Regions from separate parts of the Homo sapiens genome. Here all the other regions are linked to region 4. Evidence: promoter capture Hi-C in 16 types of primary human blood cells and fetal thymus (Javierre and others, 2016). All regions are on one chromosome and are shown on one strand. Each heading gives the region's core, a stretch centred on a gene start or on the middle of the fragment in contact. The rest is flanking DNA. Distances are from core to core; before and after follow the strand shown.

Region 1 (3,428 bases), core at 694-3,193, 6.3 Mb before region 4:
AAAACTCATGGAACATGCAAATTCTTCCTTACTAGTACCAAAAATAATTTTTCAGAGGATATTACTTAAAACAAAAAAGTTACCACTAAGCTTTTAGAATCTGTTGTATAAAGACTATGATAATAGCACCATTGGTTAAAAACAAAACTAACATTTGCTAGAATCATAGGAAAGGAACAGTACAAAAGGATCTTCATTCAAATTCTTTCAACAATCAAGAAAGGTCAATTTCTGCTTAAATTTTTAGACTACGTAGCATCTTAAATCCATTTATCCATTTCGTATTTAGCAATATTCATTTTATGTAATTCATGTTTAAGAAAACCAAAATCTGATGCCTACTGTACTCACTATGCCCTCTGGATATCTTTTTAAAAGACTTAATCCCTGGATCAAATAGCCATTTAGACTATTTCAAAAGCTCTAGGTCCCAATCTTAATGTTAGGTAAGCCTTCCCTATCTCTCCAAATGTACATGTACCTCATGTTAGATAACTGACAACCACCAACCTCCAGCTTCCCCTAGATATGCTAGGGACATTGTCAAGACTTGTGGTTACCAGACCTGAGTAAGTTTACTGTTAAGACTCACCAGAGGATATCCTAAGTTCCTTCTCACTAAAAGATTAGTATGAACCTGGAGAATACTGCTTTTGGAAAAACAAATCTTAAAGCAGATGTGTTATATCCAGGCAGAAAAAAATGGTAGAATGCCACAGGTAATCTACAGATTACCAAAAAAAACTAAACCAAGTTTAGATAGAATCCATGTTAAAATCAAGTTTATCTTAGCCAGGCACAGTGGCACGAGCCTGTAATCCCAGCTGCCCAAGAGCCTGTAATCCCAGCTGCCCAAGAGACAGGAAGATCTTTTGAGCACAGGAGTTCAAGGCCTGCCTGGGAAATACAGCAAGACCCTGTCTCTAAAAAAATTATGAATAAATAGAATCAAGTTATCTGGTAAAAATTAAAATCTTAATACATATTTAATTCACAAAATCCTGCATGTGTTTACTTTCATAGCAACGTATTATGCCTATGAACAAAGAGTTAAAAATGGAAAACATCCTGATTTTAGCAGTTAAGTGCTAATATTTGGGGGAAACATTATTACTGACCTAGTATCTATCCTTTAGAGTAATTATAAAGAAAATTATTCTTCCTAATGTATCTAACTCTGTAAATATTTTGTATTTGTTATAAATAATTCCTAATAGTACTGATGAATTTTTCTAGTGATGCTGGGTAATGAGTCAGCATTTACAAAGTGTTTAGCAATTATGAATATTAATCAAAAATAAGAAAAATACTGAACTCTGACATCAAAGAAATCCAAGTAGGATTCCAGTTTGTCTACCACATCATCAATAACTTCTTTTTAATACAGGGAAACCTGTAGTGCACATGCATCCTTATTTCCAGCTAGTGTTCCCGTATCTTTTCTGGAGAGCAACCTGACAATAGGAATATCAAAAGCCTTAAACATGTCCATCTCAGCCAGGCACCATGGCTCACACCTGCAATCCCAGCACTTTGGGAGGCCGAAGCAGAAGGACCGCTTGAGGCCAGGAGTTCAAGACAAGCCTTGGCAACACAATGAGACACTGTCTCTTAAAAACATAAAAATTAAAAAAACAAAATATGTCCATCTCCAGATTTATTCACTTATGAGCTCTACCATGAAAAAATTATAAAGAATCTAATGCCTTTGCTTTCCATGTTCACCTAGAAGGTTCTTCCACAGCTCTGAACAAGTCCTGCACATCCTTTGGCTCTCATTTCAAAGTTTCACTCCCCAGAGATGCTTTCTCCAACCTGCACATTCCGGTTAAGTAAGATTTCTTGGTTGTACACACACTCCTATAAAGCTTTCTTTTCTTTCCACCATAAGATGTCTCAGTCTGTAATTATAAATTAGTTTGACCTATGGTCTGTCTCTCCCAACTGACAAAATTCATGATTACAGGAATTAAATCTGATCTTGACAATCATAGCGTTGTCTTCTTTGGGGTAGCACACAAAGCTTATTATAAACTTAGTACTATAATGGAATATGCAAAAATGGAATGCTTTGCAGTCACAAATGAAACAGATCTGAGTTGATATGAAGGAACACTAAAGCAAGGTATAGGATGTATGCCGAAATCCCCTTTGGATATGGAAATATATATATATATATATATATATATATATATATATATATATATCTCCACTCATATACGCACATACTTTAATACAAATAAACCCTTTCTGAAAACAAACACCAAAAACCTAACCAGAGTAACCTAATGAGAAAGAAGGGACTGGGGGTAATGAGAACTAATTTCCCATTCACCATTACAGTCATGTGTGGATTATATGTTCTGAGAAATGTGTCTCTGGGTGATTGTATTGTTGTTCAAACATCAGAGTATACTTACACAAACCTAGATGGTATAGCCTACTACGCACCTAGGCTATGATATAGACTATTGCTCCCAGGCTACACACCTATACAGCATGTGACTGTATTGAATACCATAGGCAACTTTAATATAATGGCTAAGTATTTATGTGGTGCATGACTGCATTTGGTTTTCCAACACACAGATTTATATAATAATTTCCAATACACAAATTTATTCTGAGATTTGCTAGGTTTAATATATAGTGTCTACTAAACCCAGCAATTGTCAAAAACAGAAACAAAACCTAAAACTTCCAAATTTAAATTTTTGTAACATTTTAATGTGTTCACAGAATGGCTACACTGCTAACCTCAATGTCCATTTGCAGCATTACATTTACAGTTTAAATTCTTAAAATGAAACTTTAGTAAAGAGGATCCAAGACAGAACATTTACAGAACATTAACAGGAGGCATTTACTCCTCCAGAGAAGGCTGCTCTAACCTGCCCATTCTGGCTACATTGTATTTCTTGGTTGTAAGATAGACCTAATTTTCTAGTCAGTTGTAGTCAGATCATTTGGGCTGACATCAACTTTGTAGCAATCTACAAACTAAGACAAACAACTTCTGGCTCTATTTCATCATCTATATAAAGCAGAAAAACATCTGAGGAAGTGGGACCCAAAAATCTGCATTCTAAACAAGAAACTCAGCTTCTGAGAGGTGGTTCTCAGGTAGACCACATTGAGAAACACAAGTTTAGGTTAATACCTGTATTAATATTTTACTGCAGTTGACATTAAATAAAATCAGTGAGAATCTTATTTGTTATACATTAAATTGCATTCCAAGATCTCTGTGAAAAACTTTCATTCCTGAAAGCGACAAACTAGATTATGCAGATCAATTCTACCAATGAAAAATATGGCCGGACGCAGTGGCTCACGCCTGTAATCCTAGCACTTTGAAAGTCCAAGGCAGGCGAATTGCCTGAGCTTAGGAGTTAGAGACCAGCCTGGGCAAAATGGTGAAACCCAGT
Region 2 (3,438 bases), core at 578-3,077, 6.9 Mb before region 4:
ACAATTCCTGTAACAGCTATTCTCCCATAGGACTTTATTCCATTTGTGAGAAATCAAAGAACCTTATGAGTGAAAGGATTTTCAGGTTCCAGCTGTAGCATGAGTTTTAAATGAAATTTGAGCCAATTGTTTTGGGACTATAAAATTGGAAGAAACAAGACTCTCAGACAGAAACATCAATAAGAACTGATGCTTCCACAACCTCTCATTCTCTCAAACATCGACTGAAAACCTACTGTGTGCCATGCACTAGGCACCACGCACGGTGCTACACAAGGAGGGAGAAAAAGTCAGTCCCAGGCCAACAGAGAGGCCAACGTGTAAACTTATATGAACCATTCTGAGGGTATTCTGCCCCCAGAATCCATATTATTAGTCCCAATAGCCACATTCAGAGCCACCCATTGAGTTTTTTTTTTTTTTTTTAATTTTTACTCAAGCTGATTCTGGCTCCCTAACCCTACCTCACATTTGCAGCATGATGGAAACAACTCTCTAGGGAGCATCTGTCATAATTGTCTTCAGACGCTGCCTTCCTGTCCTGGCTACATTTTGTTTATTTACTGTCACTTCCTGGCCATCCTTGTCAAACCAATAACGTACGGTACTTAACCTATAATTGACTGTTTTGGGGCACAAAAAATCAGTTGAAATGAGGTATGAAGGCAAAAACGTTTCTATCAAGGCAGTTACATTGAAACATTAGGTGGTTTTAAGGAACAACATGGTGTAAGAAAACCTCCCTTACTCCAGCTCAGCCTTACAAAGCCTGTGATCTCATTCGTGGTGCTACAGATGAACCAAGTTTGGTGCAGTTACAAAAAATTATTATAAGAGTAAAATGAATTTCTCCTAAATTTACTTCATAAACTAACAATTTTGGTTTACATTTACAAATAAATTTAACCAGGAAATAAGTTTCCTTGGATTCCAACAAGACCTAGGGGAGTAGAAAGCTAAATCTAGATAGCCTACAAGTGGTACTTGTACTGTTATGCATTGCGGTATTTAAATACTCAGAAATAATTGTCAGTTTGAGGGTGCCTACTTTCATTTATTTATTAGTCAGTGTTTAAGCTTTTACCCTATAACAGGCACTAGTGATATGTCTTAGTCCAGATTCTTGGAAAACAGAGCCTGAGACAATAGTTTATGAGCTAACATTTTATTGGGATACAATCTTGGAGAAGCGGAAGTGAGGAGAAATAGGGAATGAGCCAGGGAAGGAGGAGAAATACAGCTGGAAATGGTCCCTGGCCCTCAGAAATTGACCTTTTGGGAGAGACTTATGTGTAAATGGATTATGACAGTGTTTGGCTAGTACAATTTAGAGAAGCTGACAAAGTGCCATGTGAGCAAGGAGGACAGAATGAGCAACTTATCCGGCCAAAAGGAAGTGTAAAGCTTCACACTGCTGGAGACATGTGAATTGGTACTTGAAAACTGAGTGGGAATTTTTCAGATGAAAAGGAAAGGGAAGAGAATTCTCAGCAAGGTGTGGAAAGTATACAATGTGTATGAATGGGCCTGGTACTTTAGATCAATGGCAAGAAGCTCAGCATGCCAAATATATAGAGGTCAAAAGACTGTAAAATTGACAACAGACTCCTAAACCATGCTCAATACACAAGTTAAGACACTCCATGTTCACCATTCCAGGAAATCGAAAGAAGAGAACATTTGAGTTTATGCCATAAATGCCTGAGATTTCACAGATGGCCCTCCCAAAATTAACTGAGCTTACTTGTAAAATTTCCCCTTACATCTAAGGGAAAAAAGGAGGACTAATATTTTGGTCATGAGAAAATTCATTTTCTAAAACCCAGTCCCATACATACAGATATTAAAACCCAAGCTCAGTGATCCTAACATGAGTGATCCTCTTTAAGAAACCACTACATTCTACCCCCACTTCAGAAGAGGGGCACTCATCACGGGGAGAATGTCCAAGAACCCCCTGGGCTGGGAAGATAGAGCAGCAGCAATCACTTTTTAAATGGGCATAGTGTTTAGCTCTCTACACTGAAGACCTCATTCAATTATTACCACAAATCTATTAAGGAGATGTTAATGGTATTACCCACAGGTGAATAAACAGACTTAGAGAGGTTAATAAGTTGTTCCCCTGATGTCATTTAGCTAGTAAGATGAAGAGTTGAGGTTCAGATATTAGATATGTTGGAAGGCTTAAATAATAATTTCACTTGCGTCCTTGTGAAGAGACCACCAAACAGTCTTTGTGTGAGCAATAAAGCTTTTTATCACCTGGGTACAGGCAGGCTGAGTTCAAAAAGAGAGTCAATGAAGGGAGATGGGGTGGAGCTGTTTTATAGGATTTGGGTAATGGAAAATTACAGTCAAAGGGGGTTGTTCTCTGGCTGGCAGGGGTGGGAGTCACAAGGTGCTCAGTGGGGGAGCTTTTGAGCCAGGATGAGCCAGGAGAAGGAATTTCACAAGGTAATGTCATCAGTTAAGGCAGGAACAGGGCATTTTCACTTCTTTTGTGATTCCTCAGTTACTTCAGGCCATCTGGATGTATACGTGCAGGTCACAGGAGATATGATGGCTTAGCTTGGGCTCAGAGGCCTGACAAATAAAATATGTATACATTACCTAATAAAATACTAGTATTTAGTAGGCATTGAACAAAGGGTAGATCCTTACATAAGCTGGTTTTCCAACAATCATAATGGAAGAAGGATCTGATAGCTAGGTGAAAGACTGTTTTCATCATGACAAGAAATCTTCCTGGGGGACTCAAAACTACTCAATTGCTGTGTTAAATTCATGCTGAACAGTTACTTTAAGTGGATATTACAACCTCCTACTTATCCTCATCTTCTCTTCAAAAATCGAGCTATTTGCAGATTTTGGCTGATGATGGGAGGTTGTACAGAATAAAGAAAATAGATTCAGGCCCATTAACTCCTCACAAAATGTATGATATTTCTTGATGTATTCATTCAACACTTTAGCTTTGTCTTCACTGGAGATAGACTGGCATTGAGAAAAAATGTTGGTGTATAAAATGGAAGATGACTCAAATTCGACATTCTGTTGCTGACAGTTCAGCTTTATAAAGTTTAGAAATAGTTTAATTAAAGTATCTGGGCAGGGTAGAGGATTACTTGGATTTGATAGTGCTAGGATTTCTCACTAGATGGCGCTACTGATCTTATTTTAGTTTTTCTCTTCCTGCCTCCTCCTCTCACCCTCTTGACAGCTTTATTTTATTTATTTATTTATTTATTTATTTATTTTTTTGAGACGGAGTCTCGCTCTGTCGCCCAGGCTGGAGTGCAGTGGCGGGATCTCGGCTCACTGCAAGCTCCGCCTCCCGGGTTCACGCCATTCTCCTGCCTCAGCCTCCCAAGTAGCTGGGACTACAGGCGCCCGCCACTACGCCCGGCTAATTTTTTGTATTTTTAGTAGAGATGG
Region 3 (3,491 bases), core at 1-2,500, 7.2 Mb after region 4:
CCCCACACTTCCATTCCTGTGTCATACGTTCCAAGGTACTGAAAATATTTCTTGCTGACAGCAAACAGTCCTCCAGCCATGGTAGGTGATCTGATGGGGTCAATTCTTGATATCCGCCTGTCCCTTTCCTGTTTGGGGACAGAATGCCACTGAAATGTTAAACGCCAGTCAAACCCACCAATCATGGGCTCCCCTATCTGCATATAGAATTCAAAAGTATTCCAATCAATTGTGTCTATAACAGGACACACAACTGCTGTTTCATCTCTCCCAATCCTTTCCAAAAGCGGTTCCAGCCAACCGGAATTACACTCACAGTGACAATCCAGGAAAGTGAGGACGTCCCCAGTGGCGAAAGTGGCCCCAATCAGACGGGCCCTAACCAGCCCCTCTCGCTTATTGGTCCTAATCAAGCGTACTCTATCAAGATTGCTGATGTAAGTTTCAAGTTGTGTCTTCAAATAAACTCTGTCACTCAAGTCATCCACCAAGATGATCTCTTTCAAAAGAACTGCAGGAGAAGTTTCTAAAACACTGTGAATGGTACGGAGCAAAGTCGACCAGGCTTCGTTATAGAAAGCAATGATAACAGAGGTGGTAGGAAGTGTCCTATAGTTGAACTTCTGGGACTTACACTCATACATTCTTTTATCCTCTATGTGTCGATGCAGGGAAATCCTGTCACTGAGGTAAATATTGATGGCGTATCTCTCAATGAGTTCTTCTTGCTGCTTCAGTTCATCCTCGTTGAGCTGGAGTTTGCTGGCTTTCCCCCACTCCCCAAGTGCACGGGAATCTGCAGGGGGCTTCTTATAAAGCGGTCGAGACAAATCCTCCGTATTTTTCTGGAGGTCTGAGAGCCTTCTTGACCCCAGCTCCCTGGCACGGCCGGCTCCTGCGGAGGCATGAAAAGTAGAGACCAAGAGCTCCACGAAGATATAGGCCACTGTTAAAAACGCCAGCAGCAGGCAGCTCTTGCCTGCCCAAGTCCACCTCACCGCCATCCGGATTCTCAGGGCTGAGGCGCAGACGCGGCCACCAAGCCACCACGCAGGGGAAGGGCGGCGGAACCCACAGCTCGAGCTCAGGTACTTCCCAGCAGGTTCTTCCTTTCATGCAGGCGCTAGGCTCCTTTCCAGCCACCCAGGCTTTCCAGGGGTCACCTGAGCCCTCTCGGTCCTCGGCCTCCGGCACAGCCCAACTCCTCTCTCCCTACTTCCTCCTGCTCGGCTCACAACTTTTCACAAACTCTCCAGCCAACACCCCACCCTCCCCGGGCCGAGGAGAAACCCCTCCCCTTCCCACTCACTCCTCCTGGTGGTTAGTTTGCGAAAGTCGTCCGCCAGGCCCAGACCGCTGGATAGGAGGCTCTTGGCCGGGCCGGGGGCTGGGGGCCGGGATGGCAGAGGGGGCCCTAGCTGCGCCCCGCCGCGCTGGGCCCTCGTCTCCGGGTGCTCTCAACCCTCATACAGGCCCTTAGCCGTTCTCCTAGGGACCCTGCCCGGACAGGAGGAAAGGTTTCCGGCCCATGGAGTTTAGTCTCATTACAAAAGCAAAACAAGAATAAGACTTACCAAGTTGCTTGCCGTTGGGGCTGAGGTCCAAGGAGGTGATCGCAGCTTTGTGGCCTTTGAAATAACGCTCCAGAACGGGGTCCTCCTGGAAAGGAAAGTTGTCAAGTTTTGAAAGCCGCCGCAGACCTCGAATTCTGGCGGCTGGGATCCACGCTGCCACTTCCCCGGAGTCCGGCTTGGGAATGGCCACCCAGGCGGCGGCTTGGCTGGGCGGCGGGGCCGGGCAGCAGCCCACCCACGGGCGCGGCGCCCAGTCCTGCTACAGGGAGACGCCGGCGCCAGCTCTCCCCGCAGAGCCCGCAAAACGCTCTGTTCGCGCTTCCCAGAGTCCAGCGCATCGCAGGAACCGCGGCCCCTTTGAAATGCACGTTCCCGGGCCCCGCCCGCTGGCCCAAGGCAGGCAGGTGCGAGGATGCGCCTCGGCTTTGGTACTTTTTTTTTTTTTAATACTTCCTAGGTGATTCTGACGCAGGCGCTCCACGGAAACCCTCCGAGAATTCTGGGGGCCGTGGGGCCGCCCAGCTCAGTCCGGAGCTCCGGAACTCGGGGAAGAGCGTCCGGGAGCCGGGTCTGGGTTCCGCACTCCGTCCGCCCCGATGGCAGAGAGTGAGATACGGACGCCCCGGGACGAGGGGCTCAGGACCCGGCTACGGACACCTGCCTCCATCTCCCTCCAGGTGCGGCTTCGGCCCGGACCTGGCCCCGCAGCCCGCGGGACAGGCTCCAGGGAGGGACCCCCCCCACCTCCAACCCGTCCTTACCGTGGCTGAGGCCATCGGGGGAGTGGTCGGCCCAAGGCTCCTGTGGGTGGGGGAACCCGGAGAGGGGAGGGGAGAGGATGGGGAAGGAGAGGGGACCGTGCGGCTCCCGGAACCGTCTGCCCAGAGCGGCAGCGCCTCCCGGTCACTACAACAACGGCGGCCCAGTCAAACCCCGCGCTCCAGGCATGGCCAGCCGAGCCCCGAGACACCGCCAGCCCTGTAAAGAGAGGACGGGAGGTATGCGCCGGGTCAGCTGTGGCCACACACCAAGCCATGTTAACTAACACTCGCGTTCTCCCTGGTTTGATGTCAGGAAGTGGGGTAGTAACCAGGACTGGAATAAGAGCGATGAATGGAAGGGCGTTGTGAGCCTGTGATCGATGCGATCAGAGTTCTATTACGTTTTAAAGAGACAGCACCCGTGACGTTTAAGGTGATCCCCTACCGCTTATTTTGTTGACGTAAAGCTTTGACATGAAGAGGGGCAGCTTGCTAGTTATTAATATACTAAAAGGAACTAAATCCCCTGAGGGCAGATTTGAATTTATTTAACCACTGTTTTCCACACAGTGCCCTGCAGGATATTGATATAGTTGCTGGATGTGCGTGATGAATGAATGAGTGAATGAATGAATAAATGTTGTGCATGCACTTAATAATTTTCTGCGATATGTTTCCATTCTCATCTGCTTATTTGCGTATACCTTAGAGCACTAAACTTACACAGCTGGATACTTAAAGTCTTTAGGAAGACTTGGAAACATGGTTTTTTTTGTTTGTTTTTTGTGAGACCACGTTTCTACAGCAGGCTTTGTTACACATAGTATCATTTGTGCTTCAGCCAAACAATGAAGTTGGTAGAATTACAAAATGTTTTCAATGTTTCCAAGTTATAAACTTGATTCCTAGATATTGGTCTTAGAGGTCACACAGAGACAGTTCTTCTAATTCCAAGTCCATATCCTTTTTTTTTTTTTAACCCTGCCTCAAAGCGTGATGTTCTGAGCTGAAAATTACATATAGTGTAAAGATCCTTAGCAACATCAAAGGGCATGATAGAACACAGCTGGTAAGACATGTGTTTTATGCAAATGAAAGGTATGCTACACACCTTAATTACAGATTCCCTAGTTGTCTAGTGATTGAGTTTAATTTT
Region 4 (3,503 bases), core at 163-2,662:
CATTGTTCTTCTGGCTGAGGCTGGTCAAAGCTACACTGATCTTCAAATAAAGGCTCGTCAATGCTACACTGTTCTTCAAGCAACGGCTGGTGAACTTGTTCTGACAAAGGATGGTCGACTTTTCTTGCTTGCTTCCTATGTCTTTCCTCTTCAGCTAAATAGAGATGTTTCAGATTATCTGGGTATCGATCTGTGAATTGAGATTCCAGTGACGTTTGAGCCTTCTTTTCCTTCCGTAGCAATTTCTTGTAACTTTGCTGTATTTTCAGTTTTCTTCGAAAAGCAAAGCCTTGTCCTACATTGAGGAATATCATCCAAAATTACTTTCAGAGAAAAGAAGTTGAACGAAGAATGGAGCTGTTAATTACAAATGAAAACTTTTTTTACGTCATCACATTCAGATTCTAGTATTATATTTTGCTTTAAAAAATTATTTCAAGCAACAAATTTAAGCTGATGGATTGCATAGTAAGTTGGCCCTTTGCAAAAAGACCAGGCTAACAGTCATGCGGAAATCCAAGTAAGAATCTCAAAGAAAAACTGACCAGTTCAGACTGTTGCACAACTTGAGTTTACAGCTGTATTCACAAATCAAAACAAATTCCTTAGTTCATCTAAAACACTTAATCTGAGCCTTCAATAAATGCTTAAAAAATAGGAAAGAAAATGCCACATCTAGTATCTTGGACAAACTACATGTTTTCGAAAATGTTTCAACACGAAAGAAAAAGACAGTGTATGGTTGTCTGAAAAGCTAGCAATTATCGGAAGACTGAATTTAACATTTATATATTCCAAGTGGGATCTAAGAGACCTTACAGACAGCAATACAAAATGACAAACACAAATTAAAGCGAAGGCTGGAGGGCCTCGGGTATTTGTAATAAGGAAGAATTCGGAGCAGTGTTTCTGGCCCTGTCCTCCTCTCTATCCTTTACCTTACCACATGCGCAAGAGTTCACAGGGTCATAGACTCTCTCTGCTCAGTTTCTCAGGAAAAATATAGGAAAAAAGTTCTGATGAAATACAGGGTTACGTCAGAAAAGACGTTTAAATAATAGCAACACTGCTCCGTCTTCCTATCTAGAGCTCTGCGAAGCTCACAGCTTTAGCGGGCTCAGGAATGAATTCCCTTGCCCCAAGTAGGACCGGGTCTGGTTCCTAAATCCTTCTTCCAAGCTTCAGCGAATCTTATATCCTAAAACTTAGCAAGCCTGAGGATTTGCAAATGGTTGCCTTCTTACATACCCTCGCGAACGCTCCCCACGAAGGCTTGCGGGTGGTTAGGCCGCCATGTCTTCTGTCTCACATTCTTATTCCTGTACCCGACAGTGGAAACCCCTTCACCACGCGCCTCAATACCACCAGGCCGCCACTTCGCGGACCGCCTCACCGGCGCCATTGCAGCCGACTAACTGCGTCATCAGAAGACCACGACGGACGCCCACAAAATACGTCACCAAGCCGAAGCAATCAATCGCTCAGAAGGAATCCGGCTCGGAGCTCTACTGAGCCTGCCTGTGCTAATTTGGGCCGAGCTGGCGCCTCACGGCCATGTTTGCGCCACCTACAGCCTCGGAGGGTGAGCGTCATGGCGGCTTCTTGCCCTCTCCCGGTGACCCCGGACCTGCCCACGCTGCGTGCCAAGTTGCAGGGACTGCTGCAGTTCCTGAGGGATGCCCTGTCCATTTCCAATGCACATACCGTGGATTTCTACACAGAATCCGTGTGGGAGGAGCTGGTCGACTTGCCACCGGAGACAGTGCTGGCTGCGCTGAGGAAGTCAGCGTCGGAGACGGAGGCCCTGCCCTCAGAGACGCGCCCCCTAGTGGAAGCAGAGTGGGAAGCAGGTGGGTGGTGGGGTAGGCGGGGCGGGAAGGGAGGCGGAGGAGAAGGTCCCGGCAGACGAAGCGAGCCCCCTGGTGGAAGCCAGCAGAACCAGGTGCGTGGCGGCGGAGGCGGGGCGGCCCGCTGGGAAACCGAGGAGGGGTCGGATTAGTTGAGGGGTGGGGTGGGGATGTTCTTTGGAATCAGGATCACTCTTTCTTTGGGTGCTTGTGTATGTCCACAATTTAAAGAAAGCAGGAAACAGGGCAGGGGAGTTCCTTCATCTAGTAATTCCATAATAATTGACGCTAGGGAAACTAGGGGAGCAGTGCTCTCACAGGTTTTATAAATGCCAGCATGTGGTGGAAGATTACTCAACAGTTAATAAAGATAATTTCAAGTGGTGGTAATGAAGTAGAAAATAAAAACAGTGTAATGTGGTAGGGATTGTGTAAGGAGGCTGCCTCAATTTAGGAGGTCAGGAACATGAGAAGGCACTAGCTGCAGAGCCACAGGGAGGGGTTGCAGGCGGTGGGAACCGCAGGCTAGGCTTGGCTCTAGCCAGGTGAGGGGCTGCAGGTGCAGGACGGGAGGCAAGCAGAGGCCAGATGGCACAGGCCTTTCTAGGCCTTGGAAGGATTTTGGATTTTAAGTGTGACGGAAACCCTTGGGATTATTTAGGCAACATAGTGACCTAATTCACATTTGAAAAGATAACTGTGAATTATTTGAAGAATAGACTAGGGCAAAAGCTGAAGCTGAGAGGCCAGTTAGGAGACTACCTCAGTAGTACAACAGATGATTGTATCTTGGACTAGGATGGTATTCGGATAGTCACTATTTCATTTAAAAACTATTTTAAAGTACCTAATATGTGTCTTGAATTTTTGTAGGCTCAAGCTTTTCCTACCCTCAAGAAATGTAGATTCTTCTCAGGCAAGCATATTTTGGAAGTAGAATGATGGACACCAACAGGCTTCTGGGATTTTTACTTTCCTTCTAGACTTCCCAAAGTTACCCTTACTAGTGAACTTTATTCATTGAGCATTCTCTGAATGCAAAGCATCACTAGAGGGACCTCTTATAATAGCACTTGGTAAATACTGTTGTTGTTTTTTTAAGTAATTGTTATTGAAAAGTTAGGCACTTCTTCAGTTTGCTCTCATAATAAATATATGGCACTTATGATATGACAATTTTACTTAAACTCCAAAAGAGCAGAGTCTTTGTCTGACTTGTCAACTGATGTATTCCCAGCACTTGGTAAAATACTTGGCATACATTAGATACTGGATGAATATTTGTTGAATGGAGGAATTAATGAGTTACTCATGTTAGTTTTAAATAAATAAAATGAAACTACTCTCAAGTTTAGAGTGTAAGACTTTAATACGTGTTTAGCCTGGTCTCCAGACAATGGTAGAGTCAGATTGTCTTACATATTCTAATAATAATTGGATTATTTGATATTTACTATATACCCTGTAGTGTGCTAAGTGTCTTCATGTGTATTTTCTCTTTTAATCTTTACATCAGCCTTGCAAGATAGGTTCTGTTATTGTCGATTTGTGGAATTATAACTTGAGGAGTTAATTTGCAAGGGATATAGCTGATAATGGAAGATTCTCAAACCTGGGTCATCTGATTTGAAACTTTTTTAGTGCTGTAAGAAAAAA
Region 5 (3,312 bases), core at 513-3,012, 7.8 Mb before region 4:
GTTGGGAAAATCCCAAGTAAATGGAGAGAAGATGTTCACGCACAGAAAATGCAATCAATATCATTGCTCCAAATTATGTGAATCGGAAGCAATCTGTATTACAATCCAAATAGATGTGCTCATGGAACTTGACAAATTAATTTTAAGATTTATATGAACACCAGATGCTAGAATAGACAAGATCTTTTTGACAGATGTATATTTTAGTTTTGGTGCAGAAACAATGGAATAGAATAGAGTTTAGAATTAGATCGAAACACACAGATTACACGTTTATGTCTTGATGTGTGGTTAAATTTGTATTATAATCAGTGGAATATAAACCAGTATTGTGGAACAGATTATCCATAAATAATAAAACTGTGCTCAGACACAAAATTAATTCCTATATGGATTAAAGATTTAATGTGTAAAAGTAAAAAATGTCAAATCTTTCTAGAAAAATATAGGAGGATGTGTTCATAATTGTGTATAAGGGGAAAATTTCTTAAAAGTACAAAACATAGAGAAAAGATTGATGTGTTCGACCATAATAAAAATAGAACTTTCTGTTCATTAAATCATACTAGAAACAAACAAACCAATAACCTGATGTGCTAGTTGTTTAGTTCTTATAACTGATTAAAGATTACTAACAAAATAGTTGTACAATTGCCAAATGTATAAAGTAAAAGAACAGCTCATTCTTACAAAAAGAAATATGAATGGCCAAAAAGTTGTAAAAGTTCCCTTAGGTTCAAAGAAATGCAAACTAAAAACAAAATACCAATTTACCCTACTCAGTATGATTAAATTTTTTTAAATGGTGATGACATCAACTCTGAAAGGCATATGGAGCAATTAAAACACTTAAACTGCTAGTAGGCTGTAAATTGGTAAAAAATGTTTTTAAAAGCAATTTAGAAATACCTGTTGTGGTTGAAGACAAAAGTAACCAATATCCCAATATTTCCACCTGTTGCAGCATTATATGTAATAGGGAAAAATTGAAAGTAATATACCCATTTGGAATACATATAGTCACTATACTGAAGTGAGAATAAATTAACCAGAGCTGTACAAATAAAATAGTAAACCTATGTTCTTATACTTTGTTGCCTTTCTTTTGATGTTTAACAATAGGCAAATCAATGCTGTATGTTGTTTAAATAATTGTGAATATGAAATAAAAACTATACCAAAAATATTGGATGAGACTTCCACTTTCATGGTTATGTTCCTGTAGATAGCAGACTAATTGATATAGGACATCAGTATGCTAAGTAAATTGAGGTAAAGATACTCTTAAATGCATTACTGTGTTCCCAAGGAAGTGAAGGAAATACCCAGAATACCCAGGTCTTTCTTCTAACGCACACACACCCCAAAGATACAAATGAAAACAGAAAAGGAGAGTGCACTGAGGAAAATATAGATACCATATGATACTGGGAGATTAGACCCTGATCATCACAAATTGAAACTGTAAATGCAAGATGCCTGAAATAAAGTTTATATCCTTGGTGAAAGGATGGGCAGAGTAAAACTAGATAGATTGATAAATGATTGATTAATGGGTGGACAGATAAGAGAAACCTTCATTACTTTAGAGAGAACAGATGAAAAAGAAAGACTCTGCTATTGCCTGAGGTGAAATGAATTGACTAAAATAATAACAGTCATGCCATTATCATCAACATTTACTTTGGGAATGTGTACCCATACACTTGGTTTCACATAGCTACCCTACCCTGCCAGTCAGAGAAACTTTGACCTGAGAATTTCATAATGTATTGAAAATGATATTGTACCTCTTGGCTACCTGACAAAATTTTGTTCCTTCAACATTTTCACAAAATATAAGTTTGCAATAAAAGAAGCATCTGTTTCTTTAAAGATTTCATTTATAGCCATCATACTTTTTATCTAATAAATCTGTTTACAAGAAAGGAATTCTAACTCTATAGTTTATTATTTCTGCTGACTATATATAATTAGAACTTTCTCAGAATTATTAGATACAGAATATGGCCTTAAATGAAATCTGTACATTAGTAGATGGAATTTTAAACGAGCAAAGAACAGGAGAAAATAATGCAGTTTTAAAAATTAAAGTAATAGAAATAAAAGTGCAAAGAATGTATTCCAAAAAAATTTAACGTCATTGTATAGGTAAAATCTCAGTTTAATCAAGCTGGAAAAAGAGAAGGAATGAATCAGAATGAAGCAGTTCATGCACAGCAGAGTAGTTGTGTTGCCTCGTCTCCCAGTGATAAACTTACATGCTATTTTTTAAATAAAATAGATAATCAAAAAGTGAAAGTGCAGCAAAGAAAAAAAGTGATAACACTTGAATTGCAATTGAATGTAATTAGAAGATGGCTGATCTTCAGAATGGTGACACAACATTCTAGAGGCCCAAGATATACAGCCAGAAGAACTCAGTCAATGAGAACATTGGCCGTAATGAAAAAGAATGAAGATGTTTCAGAAGAAACAAAGCTGTCAATAAACGACATTAGGTGTTATGTCAGATATTTCAAGATACTGAAAGTGCAAAAGGTAAGTTGTGGCCGGGCGCGGTGGCTCACGCCTGTAATCTCAGCACTTTGGGAGGTCGAGGTGGACAGATCACTTGAAGTCAGGAATTTAAGACCAGCCTGGCCAACATACCAAATACAAAATACGATGTAAAAATACAAAAATTAGCCAGGCTTGGTGGTGAGTGCCTGTAATCCCAGCTACTTGGGAGGCTGAGGCAGGAGAATCACTTGAACCTGGGAGATGGAGGTTGCAGTGAGCTGGGATCGTACCACTGCACTCCAGCCTGGGCGACAGAGTGAGACTCAGTCTCAAGTATGCTAAGGAGAATTCTAGATTCCTGTCCCCTGGTTATTCAACCAAATAGTAATCTGCTGTGAAAGGATTTTGCAGATGTAATTAAAGTCCCAAGTCAGTTGACCTTAACATGTGGTGATTATGTAGGTGGTCTTGACCCAATCACATAAGCACTTCAAAATCAGAGTTTTCTTCATCTAGTAGTGGAAGAAGACAGATTTTAAGTGTGGGAAAGATTCAGTGCACCATGGCTTGCTTTGAAGATGGACTGGGCCACATGAGAGGAATGTGGCTGCATCTAGGAGCTAAGAGTGGCCTCCAGTTTACAGATAGCAAAGAAATGGGGATATCAGACCTAAGGCAATAATAGGTTGTGGATTGCATTCTGCAAAAAACGAACAAACAAAACCCTGAATGAGCTTGGAAGCAGATTCTTTGCCAGAGCATCCAGATAAGAGCCCAAACTAGCTAACACTTCGTTGTCAGCCTTGTAAG
Region 6 (3,269 bases), core at 395-2,894, 5.8 Mb before region 4:
TTCCTTGTAAAAAATTATGTAATCTGACAAACTATTCCTGCTAATATGTAGGCATTTGGCAGCCAAAAAGCAAAAATTACCTTACTGGTGGTCATCTCAACAGGACAGATTTCAACTGTACAGATCTGTGTCCCTCAAATATCACTAAATAGGCCTGGCATGGCAGCTCACATCTATAATCCCAGCACTTTGGGAGACCAAGGTGGGAGAATCATTTGAGGCTAGGGGTTCAAGACCAAGCTGGGCAACATAGTGAGACTCTGTTTCTAAAAAAAAAAAAAAAAACTTAAAAATTAGCCAGGTGTGATGGTATTCGCCTGTAGTCCCAGCTACTTGGGAGGCAGAGACAGGAGGATCACTTGAGCCTGGGAGGTCGAGGCTGCAGTGAGCCATGGTAGTGAGTGCCACTGCACTCCAGCCTAGGTGACAGCTCAAGACCCTGTATCAGAAGAAAAAAAAAAAAGGCCAGAGGAGGTAGCTCACGCCTGTAATCTCAACACTTTGGGAGGACGAGGCAGGTGGATCACTTTACGTCAGGAGTTCGAGAACAGCCTGGCCAATATGGTGAAACCCCATCTCTACTAAAAATACAAAAAATTAGCTGGGCATGGTGGCATGCACCCGTAATCCCAGCTACTCAGGAGGCTCAGGCATGAGAATCACTTGAAACCGGGAGGCAGAGGTTGCAGTGAGCCAAGATCACACTACTGCACTCCAGCCTAGGTGACACAGTGAGACTCTATCTCAAAAAAAAAAAAAAAAAAACACTAAAAAAAAATGCATACCAATTCTGTGAATCAGCCTTATTCTTTAAAACTATTTTTTAATTATAACAACTTAGCTTTAAATACTGTTATCTATTATGTTCTTTAATTTCCAGTTACTCCGAAATTCTCTGAAATTCCCCAGTGAGAAAATGGCAACTGGATGAACAATAAAATAAATATTTGCTTTACTCTAAGTATTTTTAAGATTTAAAAATAGGATGTCAGTCAAATACAAGTAAAATGAGAGAAAAAAAATCAAGGCTATATTCCATCTTCTTATAAAGTAAAGTGCATTTTGTAAATGACACAACTAAAACAGACTCAGGAAGATCACAAGGTCAAGACGTATCAAGAGGAGCAACTGCAAATAAATTATACAAGGCAGTATATAATATGATGGTTAAAAGGATAGGCTCCAAAGTCAAAGGTCAGGTTAAACCTCAAGTTTAAATCCTTTTAGTAGGCTCTACCACCTACTACTTAACTTCTCTGTGCCTCAGGTTTAGTTCAAATCCTGGCTCCACCACTTATTTAATCTGTCAGTTGCTCAGGTTTAAAAAAAAGAAAATAGCCTGATTGCGGGGTGGTTGTCAGGATCAAATGTGATGACATGTCAAGTACTTCTAGAGTAGTACAGTACCTGGTATATAGCAGTTGACGCACATTAGCTATTAATATGACCTATAACAATTTCCCTCTGAATCTATCAAGTTTTCAAAAACTCTAAATCAAAAAGCTTCTCCTTTTTATTTGAAAAAAGTCAAGCTCTGAAACCATTTCCTCTTTTTTTCAGTCCTTTTTGAATATGGAAATTAGTAGGTAACTGGCTTATCATTTGATGACTCTTCTTAGTCTTTGTATAATAAAAAGGCTCAAGACTCTTCTTAGTCTTTTTATAATAAAATTCTCTTCCAAATATTATACAAAGGACAGACTGCTCCATGGATCAAAAACACTACAAAGAGTTCACAAAGTATAATGAAATTCTGAGATTCATAAATGAACAGCTACTGGCACAAAAAGCTTAGATAAGAAATAATGCAGATGTCTGTTTGTTTGCTCAAGAAATACTGAATTTTATAATAAAACACAGATGGTAGAGATCTTCATGGCTTATAGTCACATCACTAAAAACAGAAAATATTTTTGGTAAATTTTTTCTTAACAACCAGAAAACCCCTTATTTCATCACAACAATGAATAGATAAATGACATTACAGGCAAAGACAATTTCTTCAAAAACAAATTACGTAGAGAAAAAAAGCTTAAAGGCTCAGATTTTCAGCTACACATATCCCTTACTTTGAGCTTCAAAAATTTGAGGCTTCTAGCACTCCTTGTGGTCTGTAACATTAAGCAGTAATACAATTAGGCCTCATTTCTACCAGAAAACATTAAACTGACTGAAAGAAAATTATCTAGAATTTTGATTCTGATCAATTTAAACATAATGCCATGAGTCATCTAGATGAGTCAAGCAAATATTAGAGTTCATGATAAACGAATCAAAATATGTTTTAAAGATCTGCAGACAAACGTTTTAATAATTTTGTATTTGCTGAAGTCCTCCTATGTGTGACACATTGAGGTAGGCACATTCATATTGAGGTATGCACTTTCACATGCATTATATAACTTTGTTCTCCCAACGATCATGGATTATTATCCTGATTTTACAAATGAGAAAACTAAGACCAAGTGATTGGCCGATGGAAACGACGCTTGTATAAGATTCAGTCAGAACACCAATTCAAATTTTCTGACCCTTATCGTACTTCCAAAACTCAAGTACTGTCAATCTCTGCTGTTGCAAAGCAAGTTAATCTTTTTATTTAGGGAGAGGTGAAAATAGAGATGGGAGAATAAAAATTCTTCATAATGTTACAAAAAAAGACTTACTGTGCTTTATCTGACATAATTTATTCAGTCTGACTTAAATGCTTTGCTGCACGTTGTCTACCCCCTTAGACACTGCTTATCTTCAGACACACAGCCCACACCAAAACCTAACTCAAGAATCACCTCCTCCAAGAAAGTTTCCCAGATTAAATGACCTGTTCCCCTTCTCCCAAGCTAACATCCTTCCTTTATCATTTCGCTGCTTGCATTTAGTTTGGACTACATTATCAGATACTCCTTTTGTTCTCCAGTCATATATCTGGAAGTAGACTTTTTTCATTCATTAACTATTGAACATTTGGAGATTCAATGGTGAGCAAAACAGACAAGGTCCTTGCTATCATGGAGAATTTACATTATCTGGATCTTCGACAAAGGTAAAAATAACAGGGTATAAGAATATGATGCTCTAGGACTAGGATTTCTTCCCTATAAGGTCTCCGAAAATAGCTCTCTCCCTTGCAAGCTTGATAACACTTTTCAGGAAGAAAAATTCCTTCTATCACGCCTTCCACATGAGAATTTTATGACTTTGTGAGGATATGTGAGGGATGGGGACCAAGGTGGGAAGAAAGATCTAAAATCTCTCAGGGGTTTCCCACA
Region 7 (3,594 bases), core at 75-2,574, 6.9 Mb before region 4:
GCTATGGAGAAGAGGATTAATACTGCAAAAATCAGGTAATGGGTACCAAATTAAATAATGTAATTAAATAATTAAGTAGTTCCTTCAACTGCTCTGAGTGGCTTCTCCATCTTTCATAAAGGCAGTCAATCTCCCTTGAATACAATACAGTTTCTCAATTACTGCTAAAATGTAGCACAGAGAACTAATACAACACTCTAAAGCAATGTGATTTAGGAGGAAGAGGGCTGGAATACAAGGACTGCCACTGCATACAGGAAAATCACTTTCCTGTTCCAGCTTTCTCATTTGTAATATAAGATAAAACCATATACCTCAAGACTCTCTTGTAAGAATTGTATTCAATATACTTAATTATTGCTCCATGAGAAAAGAGCAGACAATTTATGACAAAAAAGGCCAATAGGATTACTATTAAAGGCCCTGGAAAGGAAGCACAACCTCACAAGCCAGATCCAGACAGTAATAGTACCAAAAGGAGTTAACAGAAACAGCATTTGCTCCACAGATTTCCTCACCACATGTAATTTGAGAAGTTAAAGAAAATGTTCATGAAAAGTTATTAAACATTATACTAAAATTCAAACAAAAGAAACTACATCTTGAAGAAAAGTTTTCAGAGTGTGACCTCTACTGGCTGTATACACTACTGCAAATAACTGGATTTTTGCTCAATTTTCCCGTCATTTGGACATATGTAACTATACCATGTTCATACATGCTACAGACTGAAGATCTTAATGCTCATTTAAATTTTATAGTGGGAGGAGTAATAGTGTGCAGACCATCTAATTCAGAAATGGATGTCTCCATAGTTGCCAAGGTTGGCCAAAACATGTTAGGGTCCAGATATGATGATTCCCTTGAATTATATGACATAAAAAGTATTTACTAATGGGAAATCAAAGCACATTCTAAAGAAATAAAATTATAAAGCATTATCCAATAAACTATATTATAACCAAATTATTTGTTCTCTGCTGAAAATGAATCGAAGATAATACATAGTTCTCACCTCTTTTAAGCCACTAAAAGGTCCAATGGCTGAAACTGTGTTTCCCTGAACCATAATGTAACAATTAGTTAAGAGTTCCAATGCCTGTATCAAGAGATCAAGTTAAAATTCATTACTCTGAAAAAGTATTAAGGAAGAGACTCAAGTTTTCCACTAATTAAAAAATACCTTCAATGTAGATCCTTTGGGACCAATAAGCCGTTGTCTTCGTTTTACAAATCTCTCTTTATTCCTTACTAAAGAACCTATTTTAATGATGTCACATGCAACATCATCCTGAAGAATTCGTACTGCCTTTTGCAAAAAAAAAAAAAAAAAGAAGACATTATCAACATTTTTTACAATTACATTCATTTTCCAGGCCCACGCTATTGTTACCTAAGCACAAATATGAAAACTTGATGGTGGGATGTTATAGGTTAACACTGATGCAAACAAAGCAAAGTCTCTGTAATTCTAGATTTACCTGTTCAAATGAAACACTCCTTGCTAACAGTTTTATCAGATCTCTGGCCCTAATGATGATATATGGATCAAAAGTCTTCTTTGTAGTACAAACAGTCATGCTGCCTTCGATCAGGTCCAGGGTTGCATTAACATGCTACAGAAGGAAAGAGCAAACAAGCAGTTGTCTAAAAATGAGTTTTTTTAGATAATTATAAAGCCTCTCCTAACCAACCTATTAATTTCTGTCACCTCTCAATTCCTATCAATTACTTCCCTGAAGAAGCTAGGTAGTTAAGTATAAATAATGAATACTCAATTACTTTCACACTTTACAGACTATAAGAAACTGGAGCAATTGAAACCATTTACCCTTGGTTTTAGAATACTTTGTACCCACTGGAATATAGATTGCCTCTAATTTAAAAATTATAAATCAAACAAATGAGGTCATACTTAAAATCTGACTAAGGTAAAAATGTAAAGCTGTACAGCTTCCCTATTCTGGACCCAGCTCCAGTCTACCATCTGCTCCATTGGGTAAGAATTGACTTTCCCTTTCAAACTTTTTTCGAGCTAATTAGGGGACTAAATACAAAGTAAAAGCAAATTATCATAGTTTCAGAAAAAAGCAATGATTAGAAAACTTAAGCATTAACTTTCAACAGGAAAAAACAGATTTCAACAAAGCGAATTAAAATGCTATTTTCTCACTTGTGAGCATAATCTCAAGAATATTTCAACATAGTTAAGTGCTGAACAATTCAACATATGGTTGAGTCTCTATGAGTTTACAAAAAAAAAATGAGCTCAATCCCAGATGCAGCTACAAAACACAACCTGCAGCTTGCTGAGCCACCTTCACCCACAATGGCACAACCAACTCCAGAGCAGTCCCACAGTTAGAAACACATTTTATATCACAACCTAATACATATACACACACACACAAACAAAGCCAATATCAAAAAAAGATACTTTTACCATGTGATATGTCATTTTCTAAAGGCTCATTATAGCCATTAAATTGACTTCTCAATACACTAATGGGTTTCAATCCCCAGTTTGAAAAAAAAAATGCAGTTATCTAGGGGCATAGCATCAGCAATAAACAAGGAAAAGTTGGACACATCCACATCTTCCATTTAAGATGAAAGGTAATCAATTAGAAACATGACTCAGCTCAGACTGGGACAGATACATGACAACTATCATGGCCTGGAGCAGGCATACTGAAATTGGGACTTCACAGGTGAATTTCAGACAGTTGTGAAGCTCCTAAAATATTAAAGGTATGTAAATTTTTCAAAGTAATTTATTACTCATAAAATTAAAACAAATGAACATTAGGTAAGAAGAAAACTTACTTAAATAGTTTAGAATACCAAAGGAACCAAAGTAACCAGCTATGTTAGCACCATTAAAAAAAAAAAAAAAGCATTAGCATACATACATTTAAAGGCATAAGCAAGAGCAAAGTCTCAAATAAATGTATTGATATAAGATACACATACATGTTCATTTAAGGCTTTCTGCACCAATGGCCAACACTCTTTCAAGTAAGCTTCCCTGTATTTTGGGAACAAAGTTGCGAAACTGCTCTCCTCCAAAAGTCCTCTGGGATTGTCCTCTTTGGAAAAAGCTGGTTCCTTCCAACCATCAGGAACCGTAAGGAGTTCTGATTCATCTACAGAAAGGAAAAAATTTACACATCACATTTTAACTGTCTTTTGGACATACACATCACATTTTAACTGTCTTTTGGACACTTTATGAACATCCTATGCACATATTCACAAACCTTCCAATACTCCTTGCATTTCCTTTTCCCCTGCTTTTTATATTATTCAAGAGTCAAAGAACGTTCCTCTGTCATTATCATCAATTCTCTGTATTAAAATTATCTGTACACATTTCAGTTGCCTCATATGACAAAGTTCCTTAAGAGCAGAAACCCTCTTCACACTAGTTGGCATATGCCAGGCAGATAGTGAGTACTCCAGAAACATGTACTGCACTACACTATCATAAAATTGAAGATTTGAATGCCATTTTGGTTAGTATTTTAAATACAATTAACCTTTCTGACTTTCCTGGAGTGTATGGAATCTGGATGTATGTGTTTGTGTAAAACT

The links. The method cuts DNA at HindIII sites, captures the fragments that hold promoters and counts their contacts. A CHiCAGO score of 5 or more calls a contact.
Region 1: a contact is called between a fragment that was not itself captured here and the fragment with the promoter of CCDC59 in region 4, in 1 of 17 cell types (total B cells). The highest score is 6.4, in total B cells.
Region 2: a contact is called between a fragment that was not itself captured here and the fragment with the promoter of CCDC59 in region 4, in 1 of 17 cell types (total B cells). The highest score is 6.9, in total B cells.
Region 3: a contact is called between the fragment with the promoter of GALNT4 here and the fragment with the promoter of CCDC59 in region 4, in 7 of 17 cell types (non-activated CD4 T cells, total CD8 T cells, naive CD4 T cells and 4 more). The highest score is 14.4, in non-activated CD4 T cells.
Region 5: a fragment that was not itself captured here is called in contact with the fragment with the promoter of CCDC59 in region 4 in 1 of 17 cell types (fetal thymus); the score reaches 10.0 in fetal thymus.
Region 6: a contact is called between a fragment that was not itself captured here and the fragment with the promoter of CCDC59 in region 4, in 1 of 17 cell types (total B cells). The highest score is 6.3, in total B cells.
Region 7: a fragment that was not itself captured here is called in contact with the fragment with the promoter of CCDC59 in region 4 in 1 of 17 cell types (non-activated CD4 T cells); the score reaches 5.6 in non-activated CD4 T cells.

What each region holds. Positions count from the first base shown.
Region 1 is chr12:76,074,387-76,077,814 of GRCh38, forward strand. All of the region lies in intron 1 of NAP1L1 (nucleosome assembly protein 1 like 1), which reads right to left. Among named protein-coding and RNA genes, the nearest start is that of NAP1L1, 8.6 kb to the right of the region's middle. The HindIII fragment of the contact is 155 bases long and covers 1,867-2,021 here.
Region 2 is chr12:75,482,305-75,485,742 of GRCh38, forward strand. All of the region lies in intron 2 of GLIPR1 (GLI pathogenesis related 1), which reads left to right. It overlaps GLIPR1-AS1 (GLIPR1 antisense RNA 1), which reads right to left. Exons shown (of 2, transcript XR_007063373.1): 2 at 1,150-3,438. Among named protein-coding and RNA genes, the nearest start is that of GLIPR1, 3.3 kb to the left of the region's middle. RefSeq lists an enhancer at 719-768 and a silencer at 3,076-3,245. The HindIII fragment of the contact is 850 bases long and covers 1,403-2,252 here.
Region 3 is chr12:89,523,546-89,527,036 of GRCh38, forward strand. GALNT4 (polypeptide N-acetylgalactosaminyltransferase 4) reads right to left here and starts at 1,251. Exons shown (of 1, transcript NM_003774.5): 1 at 1-1,251. The coding sequence starts at 1,004. POC1B-DUSP6 (POC1B-DUSP6 readthrough) reads right to left here and starts at 2,502. Exons shown (of 11, transcript NR_189589.1): 1 at 2,336-2,502; 2 at 1,575-1,659. POC1B (POC1 centriolar protein B) reads right to left here and starts at 2,502. Exons shown (of 12, transcript NM_172240.3): 1 at 2,336-2,502; 2 at 1,575-1,659. The coding sequence starts at 2,350. It overlaps POC1B-GALNT4 (POC1B-GALNT4 readthrough), which reads right to left and starts at 2,717. Exons shown (of 3, transcript NM_001199782.1): 1 at 2,336-2,717; 2 at 1,575-1,659; 3 at 1-128. The coding sequence starts at 2,610. It also overlaps POC1B-AS1. RefSeq lists an enhancer at 968-1,177 and silencers at 1,268-1,647, 2,198-2,457. The HindIII fragment of the contact is 3,011 bases long and covers 1-2,800 here.
Region 4 is chr12:82,356,975-82,360,477 of GRCh38, forward strand. CCDC59 (coiled-coil domain containing 59) reads right to left here and starts at 1,413. Exons shown (of 4, transcript NM_014167.5): 1 at 1,249-1,413; 2 at 1-295. The coding sequence starts at 1,402. METTL25 (methyltransferase like 25) reads left to right here and starts at 1,555. Exons shown (of 12, transcript NM_032230.3): 1 at 1,555-1,850. The coding sequence starts at 1,592. RefSeq lists enhancers at 1,222-1,782, 1,293-1,852, 1,783-2,343. The HindIII fragment of the contact is 1,548 bases long and covers 1,178-2,725 here.
Region 5 is chr12:74,544,245-74,547,556 of GRCh38, forward strand. It overlaps ATXN7L3B (ataxin 7 like 3B), which reads left to right. Exons shown (of 1, transcript NM_001136262.2): 1 at 1-1,186. Among named protein-coding and RNA genes, the nearest start is that of ATXN7L3B, 8.1 kb to the left of the region's middle. The HindIII fragment of the contact is 7,760 bases long and covers 1-3,312 here.
Region 6 is chr12:76,553,231-76,556,499 of GRCh38, forward strand. The region is part of intron 1 of OSBPL8 (oxysterol binding protein like 8); the gene reads right to left. Among named protein-coding and RNA genes, the nearest start is that of OSBPL8, 4.9 kb to the right of the region's middle. The HindIII fragment of the contact is 287 bases long and covers 1,502-1,788 here.
Region 7 is chr12:75,505,301-75,508,894 of GRCh38, forward strand. KRR1 (KRR1 small subunit processome component) reads right to left here. Exons shown (of 10, transcript NM_007043.7): 2 at 2,974-3,146; 3 at 1,482-1,616; 4 at 1,184-1,309; 5 at 1,016-1,099. Among named protein-coding and RNA genes, the nearest start is that of KRR1, 4.5 kb to the right of the region's middle. The HindIII fragment of the contact is 3,394 bases long and covers 1-3,021 here.